Linked DNA regions of Homo sapiens: all the other regions are linked to region 1. Evidence: promoter capture Hi-C in human tissues and cell types (Jung and others, 2019). All regions are on one chromosome and are shown on one strand. The core of a region is centred on a gene start or on the middle of the fragment in contact, and the rest is flanking DNA. Distances in the headings are between cores, read along the strand shown.

The links. The method cuts DNA at HindIII sites, captures the fragments that hold promoters and counts their contacts. A contact is called where the count stands out against the background at its distance.
Region 2: a contact is called between a fragment that was not itself captured here and the fragment with the promoter of TICRR in region 1, in 1 of the 25 tissues and cell types used here (hippocampus).
Region 3: a fragment that was not itself captured here is called in contact with the fragment with the promoter of TICRR in region 1 in 2 of the 25 tissues and cell types used here (hippocampus and liver).

What each region holds. Positions count from the first base shown.
Region 1 is chr15:89,573,670-89,577,378 of GRCh38, reverse strand. It overlaps TICRR (TOPBP1 interacting checkpoint and replication regulator), which reads right to left and starts at 1,910. Exons shown (of 22, transcript NM_152259.4): 1 at 1,139-1,910. The coding sequence starts at 1,792. RefSeq lists an enhancer at 983-1,511 and a silencer at 1,633-1,922. The HindIII fragment of the contact is 16,704 bases long and covers 1-3,709 here.
Region 2 is chr15:89,992,002-89,995,710 of GRCh38, reverse strand. No RefSeq gene overlaps it. Among named protein-coding and RNA genes, the nearest start is that of ZNF710, 7.5 kb to the left of the region's middle. The HindIII fragment of the contact is 5,795 bases long and covers 1-3,709 here.
Region 3 is chr15:89,870,786-89,874,494 of GRCh38, reverse strand. It overlaps ARPIN-AP3S2 (ARPIN-AP3S2 readthrough), which reads left to right. Exons shown (of 10, transcript NM_001199058.2): 8 at 2,949-3,020. It overlaps AP3S2 (adaptor related protein complex 3 subunit sigma 2), which reads left to right. Exons shown (of 6, transcript NM_005829.5): 4 at 2,949-3,020. Among named protein-coding and RNA genes, the nearest start is that of MIR5009, 11 kb to the left of the region's middle. The HindIII fragment of the contact is 7,631 bases long and covers 1-3,709 here.

The DNA.
Region 1 (3,709 bases), core at 661-3,160:
TGAGAAGGATGAAGGCAAAAGTATATACTTATCCTAGCACTTAACAGGAGCAGGGGGCCTCACCGCCTCAGCAAAAATCCAAATTAGCCATTTAAGACTTTAAGTTTGCAAGAATGTACGCAAGAATGTACTCATTTAGTCAGCCAATACTGACTGAACACCTACAACGTTTAATACACATCTGGGTGGCTGGGCGTGGTGGCTCACACCTATAATCCTGGCACTTCGGGAGGCCAAGGCAGGCGGATTGCCTGAGGCCAGAGTTTGAGACCAGCCTGGGCAGCATGGAACCTGGTCTCCACTGAAAATACAAAAAAATTAGCCAGGCATGGTGGCGTGGGCCTGTAGTCTCAGCTACTTGGGAGGCTGAGGCATGAGAATCGCTTGAACCCGGAGGGGTGGAGGTTGCAGTGAGCCACTGCATTCCAGCCTGGGCGACATACACTGTCTCAAAAAATAATAATAAATAAATATATATATGTATATAAATAAATGTGTATATATATGTGTGTGTGTGTATATATATATATATATATATATATATATATATATATATACACACACACATACACACACACCCCTGGGTATTGTGTTAAAACCTGCTGCTTGCCTCTGAGGTATTTTTAGACTAGATGGAGGGTGAGAGATGTGCATAATCAAAACATATGGAGAAATGGTTAAGTGCCACACAAAATGTGTATGGCAATTCAGACGCTGGACTGAGCAGTTGTCACTGGGAGAAGAAGCCTTAAAGGGTAAGTGAAGTTAAGACTGGCCTGGAAGAGTGAGAACTGGCATTCCAGGCAGATTGAACAACACACATAACACAAAACAAGCAGTCCAGACCTGTTGATTTTCTGGACTGGACTTCAATATGCTAGAGTAGATGTAGTGTGTAGGAAAATCAAGTCTGGGAAGGCAGGTAGGGCCCAAATTGTGAGGGGTCTTAAACAGTAGGTAGTGAGGAACTACCCATTTTGTTGTGAAAACTGTTCCTATTTATTTGTTTCCTTCCGAAGGGACGCATAGTCATATTAGTCTCATTCGGGGTCTGTGGCTGTTCTAAGGACGCTGCCAAGTTCTGGTTAGCAAGGAAAGCACCGTGCACGCCATCTGAGACGACAGTAACCTTCCTTACCTTAGACCATTCGGTGGTATCCACCCAGTAGAAGGTGATTTTTCGGGCGACCATGACTTCCCGGACTCTCTTGGGCAACAACTTCTCCATCACCTGCTTAGGGGTGGGCGGCAGGCGCTGGGCCTGGGCCTCGCACCCAGACACGAACTGCAGCAGCTCCCTCTGCGAGTGCGGACAGGGGGCCAGGAGGAAGACGGCGTTCACCAAGCCCCCGAGCGCGGCCTCGGCCTCCTTGGCCTCGCTCTCCACGTCCAGCAGTCTCCTCCCGCTGCTCCGCAGGATCGGCTTCGTGGGCGACGTGATCTCGGGCCGGTCCCACTGGTAGTCTAGCAGCGTCTCCATCAGGGCGCCGTGCGTGTGGGTGGCCCTGGGCGCCGGGCCGGGCAGGTGGGCGCGATCCTCGAGCCTGGCCTCCAGCTCCTCCTCAAAGTCCTCCCACGAGCGGGACCCCAGCTCGCGGAAGTCAGACACGCGGGACGGCCGGCTCCGCGCCCCCTGCGAGTCAAAGAACTTGAAGGCCCAGTGGACCCTGGCCAGGCCGAATCGGCAACTCAGATAGGTGAGGAGGCGCAGGGCGGCCCGCCGGACCCGGCTGTGGCGGGCGGCGCCGCCCGCGGTGTCCAGCAGCAGCATTACTTTGTGACAGCATGCCATATCGGCCGTGCCGCCGCCCCGGGGCCCCGGTCCGGGCCCGCGCCACCGTCCCTTAGTCCCTTCCTTCAGGGAAACAGCACCACTCACTGCTTTCCTTTGGGACCCTGGTCGAAAGGCTCCCGCGCTCTCCAGGAACTGCTGCTATTGGGGGAGCTAGTTTCCAAGGTTTGCTCCTATTGGCTGCTTGCCTTACGTAAGTTACGAGAGCAACTTCCATTTTTGGCGGTGATTGGAGGGGCAGTGGAGAAAACTTCAGTCTGATTGGTGGAGGGAGTGACGGTGGGCGGGTCTCTGTGGTCCGAGAGAAGCTTAGCATTCATTGGCCTGGGCCTTCGTTTTAAATTTTAAAGAGGTGGTGCCTCGGGGGCGTGTCGAGAAGTTTCGCCATTGGAAAGAGGCCAGCGTTTGTGCGCAGTCGTGAGTGCGGACTGCGGGGCCACGTTTCCCAAGACCGAGGAAAACTTAGTGCCGGGAGGGAATTTGGGATGGTTTGAATCGAACTTGTTGAAATCCCTGTGGACCGCCTAGGAAGTAGAATCTGACGACTACGGCTTTTTCTGTAATTTAAAAAATTTTATTAAAAATTAAAGGTTCACTCCCTTTGCCCCAGTAACTTCTAGGAGTTTATCTGCAGAAGGTAATCGGAGAGCCAGATAAAAGACGTCTGTACATCTTAGAGTTTATTTAACATCAGAAAAAATGGAAACAGTTTGGGAATGGTTAAATAAGGTATGGTACACGCCCAAGGGGAGCATCGTGCAGCTCCTTTTTTTTTTTTTTTTTTTTTTTTTTTTTTTTTGAAACGGAGTCTCGCTCTGTCTCCTAGGCTGGAGTGCATTGACACGATCTTGGCTCACTGCAACCTCCACCTCCCGGGTTCAAGCGATCCTCCTGCCTCAGCCTCCTGAATAGGACTACAGGCGCACGCCACCACCCCAGACTAATTTTTGTATTTTTAGTAAAGACGGAGTTTCACCATGTTGGCCAGGCTGGTCTCAAACTCCTGACCTTGTGATCCACCCGACTTGGCCTCCCAAAGTGCTGGGATTACAGGCGTGAGCCACCAAGCCCGGCCTAGTGCAGCTTCTTAAAATAGTGTTTTATTATGTAATGTTAGGTTTTAAAAGTGGACTGCAAGCAGCACCTGCAGTGAATTCCCTAAATTTTCTATCTACATGTATATATAGATAGAAATCACATGTAGATTTGCATTACAGATAGAAATTATATATCGCTATATAGATAGAATACATAGAATTATATATAGATAGGCCGGGCACGGTGGCTCACGCCTGTAATCCCAGCACTTTGGGAGGCCGAGGCGGGCGAATCACCAGGTCAGGAGATCGAGACCATCCTGGCTAACACAGTGAAACCCTGTCTCTACTAAAAAAAAAAAAACAAAACAAAAAAAAAAGGAATTATATATAGATAGATAATCATAGATAGAAGTTATATATAGATAGAAATGCATTTATATGCATATTTTTAAACTGTTAATATAATATTGTGTACCGGAAGTTGTCTGTGATGGTCTCTCCATGTGATTTTTTTTGAAACTTTTTTACACTTCCTCTTGCTGGACACCAGTGAACAGGCTGATTTCAGAGATGTGAGATGTGCCTCTAGGATCAGTGGAATATGGTATTTGGAAAGAAGAAGGGGACAAAAAATGAAGGTCGGTTACCTGAATATGTGTTTAGGGAGATTGATCCAATACTCCACACCATTGAATTCTGCTTGCTAAGTAATTCTGTTTCCACCTGGAAACAGAACAACTTCCTTTATATGCTTTGGCTACAACTTCCTTTATGTGCCTTGGCTTCTCCAATCAAAGTCCTCAGCAATTACTGCCTCATGTACAACAATTTTCTCTTTTGGTTGAGTTTTCTAGGGCTGCCTGCCATAACAAAGGAT
Region 2 (3,709 bases), core at 593-3,092, 420 kb before region 1:
GCCTGGGAAACAGAGGTTGAAGTGAGCCGAGATCGCGCCACCGCACTGCAGCCTGGGTGACAAAGCAAGATCTTCTTAAAAAAAAATATTAAATTAAAATTAAAATTAAAAAATAAACAATAAAAAAAATCCTCAGAAGTATAGTAACAATTTAGGAATACTCAGGGTTTTTGGGGAAAACCCAAAGAAAGCATAAGTTTGTGTGGATAGATGGGATGAACATGTGACTTACAAATTATTAGTCCAGGAGTAATGAAAGGGTGCATGAAATAATCCACCTCCTCTGAGCTCCCCTTGTGATTGAGGGTGCACAGTTACATGGCTTTATTCCCATCATGGCTTGAACCAATTAGTTAATTAATCCTATACACATAAATTTAAGAATAGAAATATGCCAAAAGAAACATGGGTCATTACAACTGCCAGCTTCACCGAAGAGTTACAAATAAATTAAATGTAAAAGCCACAGTGATGATACTTATGGCTACAGGAGGGCAAATTGGTACAAAGCCTGGAAAATAATTGGATATGAAAGATCAAGAGAAGCTTAAAAATTTATACCCTTTGATTCAGTAACTCGAATTCTAGAAATCTGTTCTTGAGAGAAATAATCAGCAATGTGAACAAAGATGTGTTAAGCATGTTTATGAAAGTATTATTTATATTGGCAAAAGTTAAAAATAGGAAAAAAGAAGGAAAGAAAGAAGGAAATAATCTAAATATCCAAAAATGATGGAAATGTTTAAAGAAGTTATGGCATGAACATCTGATGTAATACTATATAAGCTATTAAAAATCATGTTTTTGAAGAATAATGACTTGGGAAGTGTTTGTAATATGCTGAGTGAAATATAAAATTGCATATGCATCAGAATTATATATATTTAAAATTTGGTATATACATGTATACTTATCCGGAAAAATGCATGTAAAATGCCTGGAAGAAAATATACAAGTTTTTAAAAAGTTATTTCTGGCTGGGCTCAGTGGCTTACACCTGTAATCCCAGCACTTTGGGATGCCAAGGTGGGCAGATCACGTGAGGTCAGGAGTTTGAAACCAGCCTGGCCAACATGGTGAAACCTCATCTCTACTAAAAATACGAAAAATTAGCCAGGTGTGGTGGTGCATGCCTGTTATCCCAGCTACTCAGGAGGCTGAGGCAGGAGAATCACTTGAACCCAGGAGGCAGAGGTTGTGGTGAGCCGAGATCACGCCATTACACTCCAGCCTGGGTGACAGAGTGAGACTCTATCTAAAAAAAAAAAAAAAAAAAAAGTTATTTCTGTTTCTTGAAATTATAGGTGATTTAATTTTCTTCTTTATCCCTTAGTGTACTTGCCCAACTTCTTTTTTGTTTCTTTTTCTTCCTTCCTTCCTTCTTTCTTTTTCTTTCTTTTCTCTCTCCTTCCTTCCTTTCTTTTTCTTTCTTTCGTTTTTAGAGACAGGGTATTGCTCTGTCACCCAGGCTGTAGTGCAGTGACACAATCCTGGCTCACTGCAGCCTTGAACTCCTGGGCTCCAGCAGTCCTCCTGCCTTGGCCTCCCAAAGTGCTGGGATTATAGGCATGAGCTATCACGGCTGGCCCTATTTGCCAAATTTCTATAATTATTATATATTTTTTCTCTTTCTTGAGCAAGGTGTATTTATTTTTCATTTTTCCTCTCCTGGATTATTAAGGTATAATTGGCATAAAAAAATACACATAATTAATATATACAATCTGTGAGTTTGGACGTATGTATATACTCCTGTGACAGTCACCACAGTTAGTATATCCATCACCTCCAAAAGTTTCCTTGAACCCCTTTGTTGTTCGTTTTGTTTGTTTGATTGTTTGTTTCTGTGGTAAGAATGATTATATTAATTTTGAACAATAAATTATATATTTAGGAAACAAGGTCTAGGCTTATGGTTCACTTCAGAGTCAATGGTGAGAAGACCTAGGCCAGGCCTTCAAGGAGCTTCCAATCTTCAGGAGAAACAGCCATGCAAACAGAAGTGATGCTGCAGAGTGCAATTATTTCTCCTCCCTTGGAAATGTTTGAAACCTAGGAGGAAAGAGGAACCAGCGTTTTGGTTGCTGATGATTTGGGCTCTGGGTTGAATAGACTATCTATTGTGAAAGTGTATTGTGCAAAAAGAGAATAGAGCTTTTTGTGAAGGGAGATAAAGAGGGTGTAGGGTGGGAATGAGGAGGATGGGGAAGGAGGGGGCAGGGCCAGGCAGATCCCTGAGAGGCCTGGAAGCACTTATCCTGTGGGTGGACTTCAGGGCTGCCCAAAAGTCCCTCCAAGTTGTCCTCCCCACACTGCACATGGGTCTTGGTGTCCAGGGCCAGCCTGGTAGCTGGCATCACATTCATGACAGGAGTTCAGTAAATGTTTATTGCCCATAAGAATACATGAATGTGGCTCACACCTGTGATCCCAGCACTTTGAGAGGCCGAGGCGGGTGGATCACAAGGTCCGGAGATCGAGACCATCCTGGCTAACATGGTGAAACCTTGTCTCTACTAAAAATACAAAAAATTAGCCAGGCATGGTGGTGGGCACCTGTAGTCCCAGCTACTCGGGAGGCTGAGGCAGGAGAATGGCGTGTACCCGGGAGGTGGAGCTTGCAGTGAGCCGAGATCACGCTACTGCACTCCAGCCTGGGCAACATAGCGAGACTCTGTCTCGAAAAAAAAAAAAAAAAAAAAGAACACGTGATACATGAATAAAGGCTGGGTGCAGTGGCTCACACCTGTGATCCCAGCACTTTGGGAGGCCGAGGCAGGCAGATCACAAGGTCAGGAGTTCGAGACCAGCCTGACCAACGTGGTGAAACCCCGTCTCCACTAAAAATACAAAAATTAGCCAGGCGTGGTGGCGTGCGTCTGTAATCCCAGCCACTCAGGAGGCTGAGGCAGGAGAATCACTTGAACTCAGGAGGCGGAGGTTGCAGTGAACTGAGATCGTACCACTGCACTCCAGCCTGGAGGATAGAGTGAGACTCCATTTAAAAAAAAAAAAAAAAAGAATGCACGAATGAATGAACATGTAACATCAGGAATCACTCCCATGATTTCTTTTAAGGCATTAATAAAACAGTCTGAAAGACTGTGAAGCTGTGATGATGGGCAAGACAGGAGGGGAATTTAGCCTTTTTTGGGGGGACATGGTCTCACTCCGTCTCCCAGGCTGAAGTGCAGTGGTGCAATCACAGCTTATTGCAGTCTCGACCTCCTGGGCTCAAGCCATCCTGCCATATCAGACTCCTCAGTAGTTGGGACTGCAGGTGCACGCCCAGCTAATTTTTTATTTTTTGTAGAGACAGGATCTCACTTGTTGCCCAGGCTGGAGATATTTTCTTAAGTGAGAAATGGAGGTATAGAATGCCTGGCTATGCAGCAGCAGCACCATCTGGGCAGAGGGCGGAGAGGAATGCTGTAGGGTGAGGGTTTTGCCATGTTGAATCTTCAGACATGAATTCTCTTTTTGTCCCCTTCCTTTGCTTTTATTCTTCATTCAATCAACAAACATTTGTTGTGACCTGACGATGTACTGGCCACCATCAAGGGTCTCCCAGGCAACCAAGGATGACAGATGTACACTGACTTATACAGTAGCAGAAGAGGTGTATCCTCTCAGCTCTTCTCTGTAGGAAGGAGACCTTCCTGTAAGAGGTGATGTTTAGGCCGGGCACGGTGTCTCACGCCTGTAATCC
Region 3 (3,709 bases), core at 788-3,287, 300 kb before region 1:
CCTTAGTATTATACTATTTTAGTTAACAAAGCTTTACAATGAATTTTGATACCTAGAAAGACTGCACCCAGGTGAAATAAACAGCCTTGTTTCTCACACAAAGCCTGTTTGGTGGTCTCTTCACATGGACACGTGAGACAGATTTCGCTAGGGAAGCAAATAACCATGGAGGTGGGCAAGAAATATCCATGATTGTAGAGCTTTCAATCAGCCTTTTATTCTTGTAACAAATGAAAAACAAAGGATTATCAGACATCTGCGGAAAACCTCTAACATAGAAGAAGGAGATAAAATGAACAAACAATAAAAAGCAACTTAAAAATGGACACCATATAAAGAAAGGAAAACAGTTTAAAAAAAAAAAAAACCCAAAACCCTATTCTTAAGCTACAGAGAAAGCCTGGCCAACATGGTGAAACCCTATCTCTACTAAAAATACGAAGTATTTTAGCCAGGCATGGTGGCACATACCTGTAGTCCCAGCTGCTCAGGAGGCTGAGGCAGGAGAATCACCTGCACCCGGGAGGCTGAGGCTGCAGTGTTCTGAGATCACACCACAGCACTCCAGCCTGGGTGACAGAGTGAGACCTTGTCTCAAAAAAAAAAAAAAAAAAAAAAGCCACAGAGAAATAAGACATTTATTTTAAATAATAATAAGACCCATTTATTAATTAGAAATAAAATAAGACCCATTTATGTCTTATTGCTAAATGGGTGCTAAACAAAAACACTCACAGCCTTGTTGCTCACACAAAATGAACAAAATGGTCTCTTAGAAATAAAAAATGAGAGGAAATGGAAACAAACAAAAACCCACTTCAACTGAAGTATTAGAAAATCAAGTTAATCAATTGTCTCAGAATGGGCAGAGATGGAAAATGGGAGAGAAAAGATGAGAAAATAAGACAGAGGCCGGGCACAGTGGCTCACGTCTGTAACCCCAGCACTTTGGTAGGCCAAGACAGGGGGATCACTTAAGGTCAGGAATTGGATATCAGCCTGGCCAACATGGTGAAACCTCGTCTCTACTAAAAATACAAAAATTAGCCAGGCGTGGTGGTGCATGCCTGTAATCCCAGCTACTCAGGAGGCTGAGGCAGGAGAATTGCTTGAACCCAGGAGGCAGAGGCTGCAGTGAGCCAAGATCGTGGCACTGCACTTCAGCGTGGACAACAGAGCGAGAGTCTGTCTCAAAAAAAAAAAAAAAAGAAGACAGACAGAGGTCCAATACTTGAATATAAGCAGCTCCAAAAAGATTGATTAGGAATGTGGAAAGGAGGGAATTCTCAACAAAATAATTCGATAAAATTTCCCAGAACTGAAGGACTTGAACTGCAGGATTATAAGGGCTTACCAAGTACCCAGCATAGTGATTGAGAAATAGACCCATTTAACTATGTGTCCTTATAGTGAAATATTCTGGCACTGTTAAAAATGTAAAGATTTATGAATGGCACTAATATGAAATTATTGTATGTGGTTTTTGGCATACATGTATATATCTGTTAGATATGTTATCTGGGAGTAGAATTCCTAGATCATAGAGCATGCATACATAATGTCATAGTTTTCCAAAATGGTTGGTATCTGGCAAAATACAGTGCACTGGTTACCAGTCTCAAGAAAGGAATCTAAATGCTCTTGCCCATTGCATCTTGGTATCAGAGTCGGCAAGGAAAAAGTGCAAACACTGGATAAAGCTTTACTTACATAGAGAAGAGACAGAGCAGGATCAGCTCCAATAGTGTGCGTTGGTTCCTCATGGCAAGTGGGTCTGTCTCCCCAGCAGCCGCTGCAGGGTGGTTTGCCTATGAGCACCCATCTTGTGCTACAGTGGAACGGTGTGCCTGGTCTCTGTCACTTGCTGGCCTCAAGTAAGACCCATTTTCATGCAGTGCCGAACAATTCATGACACTGCTGACAATGAGATTGTTTAAATGAGGTCATTGTCTGAGAGAAATTAAACAGTTATAGATAGATACCTAGGTTGTAGTTACATGGTGTGTTCATTCTGAAAATTCATTAAACTGTGCCCTTGTCATTTGTACACTTTTCTGTTATGTTTTATTAAAAGTTAAAAGGTTCTATAGAGAAGTAAGCTCAGGGCTTTTAAAAAAAAATTTTAAGTTGTAAACACGTCAATTAAATTTATTCATAGGAAGGTATTTTGTAGGCTAAATAACTGACCAAAAAAATTAAAAAGGGAAGATGTTTTGAAGTTAATTTTGGCTGAAATTAAAACACAGCTATGTTAACCCTGTAATAATGAAAAATTTTTTGTACATGTATTCATTGAGGACATAGTATTGTAAGTAGTTGGTTTTTTTAATTTGTTATTCTTTTATGTAATTTTTTTTCTTTTTTCTTTTTTTTTTTTTGAGAGACTCTCACTCTGTCACTCAGGCTGGAGTGCAGTGGTGCGATCTCTGCTTATGGCAACCTCCACCTCAAATGATTCTCATTCAAGCTATTCTCGTGCCTCAGCCTCCCAAGTAGCTGGGACTATAACAGGCTCGTGTCGCCACACCCAGATAATTTTTGTATTTTTAGTAGAGATGGGTTTTCGTCTTGTTAGCAAGGCTGGTCGTGAGCTCTTGGCCTCAAGTGATCCTCCTGCCTTGGGCTCTCAAAGTGCTGAGATTGTAAGTATGAGCCACCATGCCCTACCATAAATTAGCATCTTATAAAGGGGGAAAGAGCCACATGTGTCTGCTGGTTGTGTTGCTATGCTGAAAACAAGGTTTTCCTGTCCTAGATTATTCCCTCTAAATCGAGATAAGTAGGGTGATCAGCTAATGCTGGAGACAAAAGGTAGGTGTTTTAATTTTTGAGATTTATCATAAAGTAAATAGTATTGTGACAGCCCCTTTTACTTTCAGATGTGACATTGATAAAGCTGTGAATGTGTTCCTATTTCTCTTCTTTATCTATTTCTCCTTGTTTTCTAGGTTTTTGTGGAAACTCTGGATAAGTGTTTCGAAAATGTGTGTGAATTGGATTTGATCTTCCATATGGATAAGGTATATTCTCTTGCAGTTCTCTTCCAAACTAGGGTTACTAGAAAACCAAGAGCCTTGGGCATCTGTAGCCACCTCTACATCTTCATATTGTTTCTTGTTTTTTTTTACTCTTAAGATAGTCCTAGAACATGTTTTATTTAATAGATTTAATAGTTTGGGTTTTGTTTTGTTTTTGCTAAGATCTACTAACAGTTTTAACGTGCATAAGATTATTACTAGGCCTATATCGTGGTTCATCTGTTCACAGACTGATTTCTTGATATAGGAGAATGATGTCACTGGCTACTTGGCCAAAGGTGAGATAAATAGTTTTATGCTGATTATAAAATTAGTTTCCTAGTCATAGGCCAGTGACAATGAAACTTTGGAATAATCATGACGCAGGGGCTTTGACTTAGATAGTAAAATTTATATCTTTCCTAAAGAGTAATATAGTGACTAAGAGATCTGTAATGTAATTCAAGGTCAGGTGATATTCTATAGGAAGGTAGACTATCAGAGGCAGAATTAAAATGGCCCCAAGTAGGTGTTCTCAGATTTGTTTTGCTAGGATAACTGTGACATGGCCTATGTCCTCATATGCCAAATTAAACTTGGGCAATAGCCAGCAAGGGAATAGGAATTGCCATGTTTATTTTATTCAACTTACCACATGCTGTCCCCTGTGCAGTTTACTGGTGCGTCTTTGG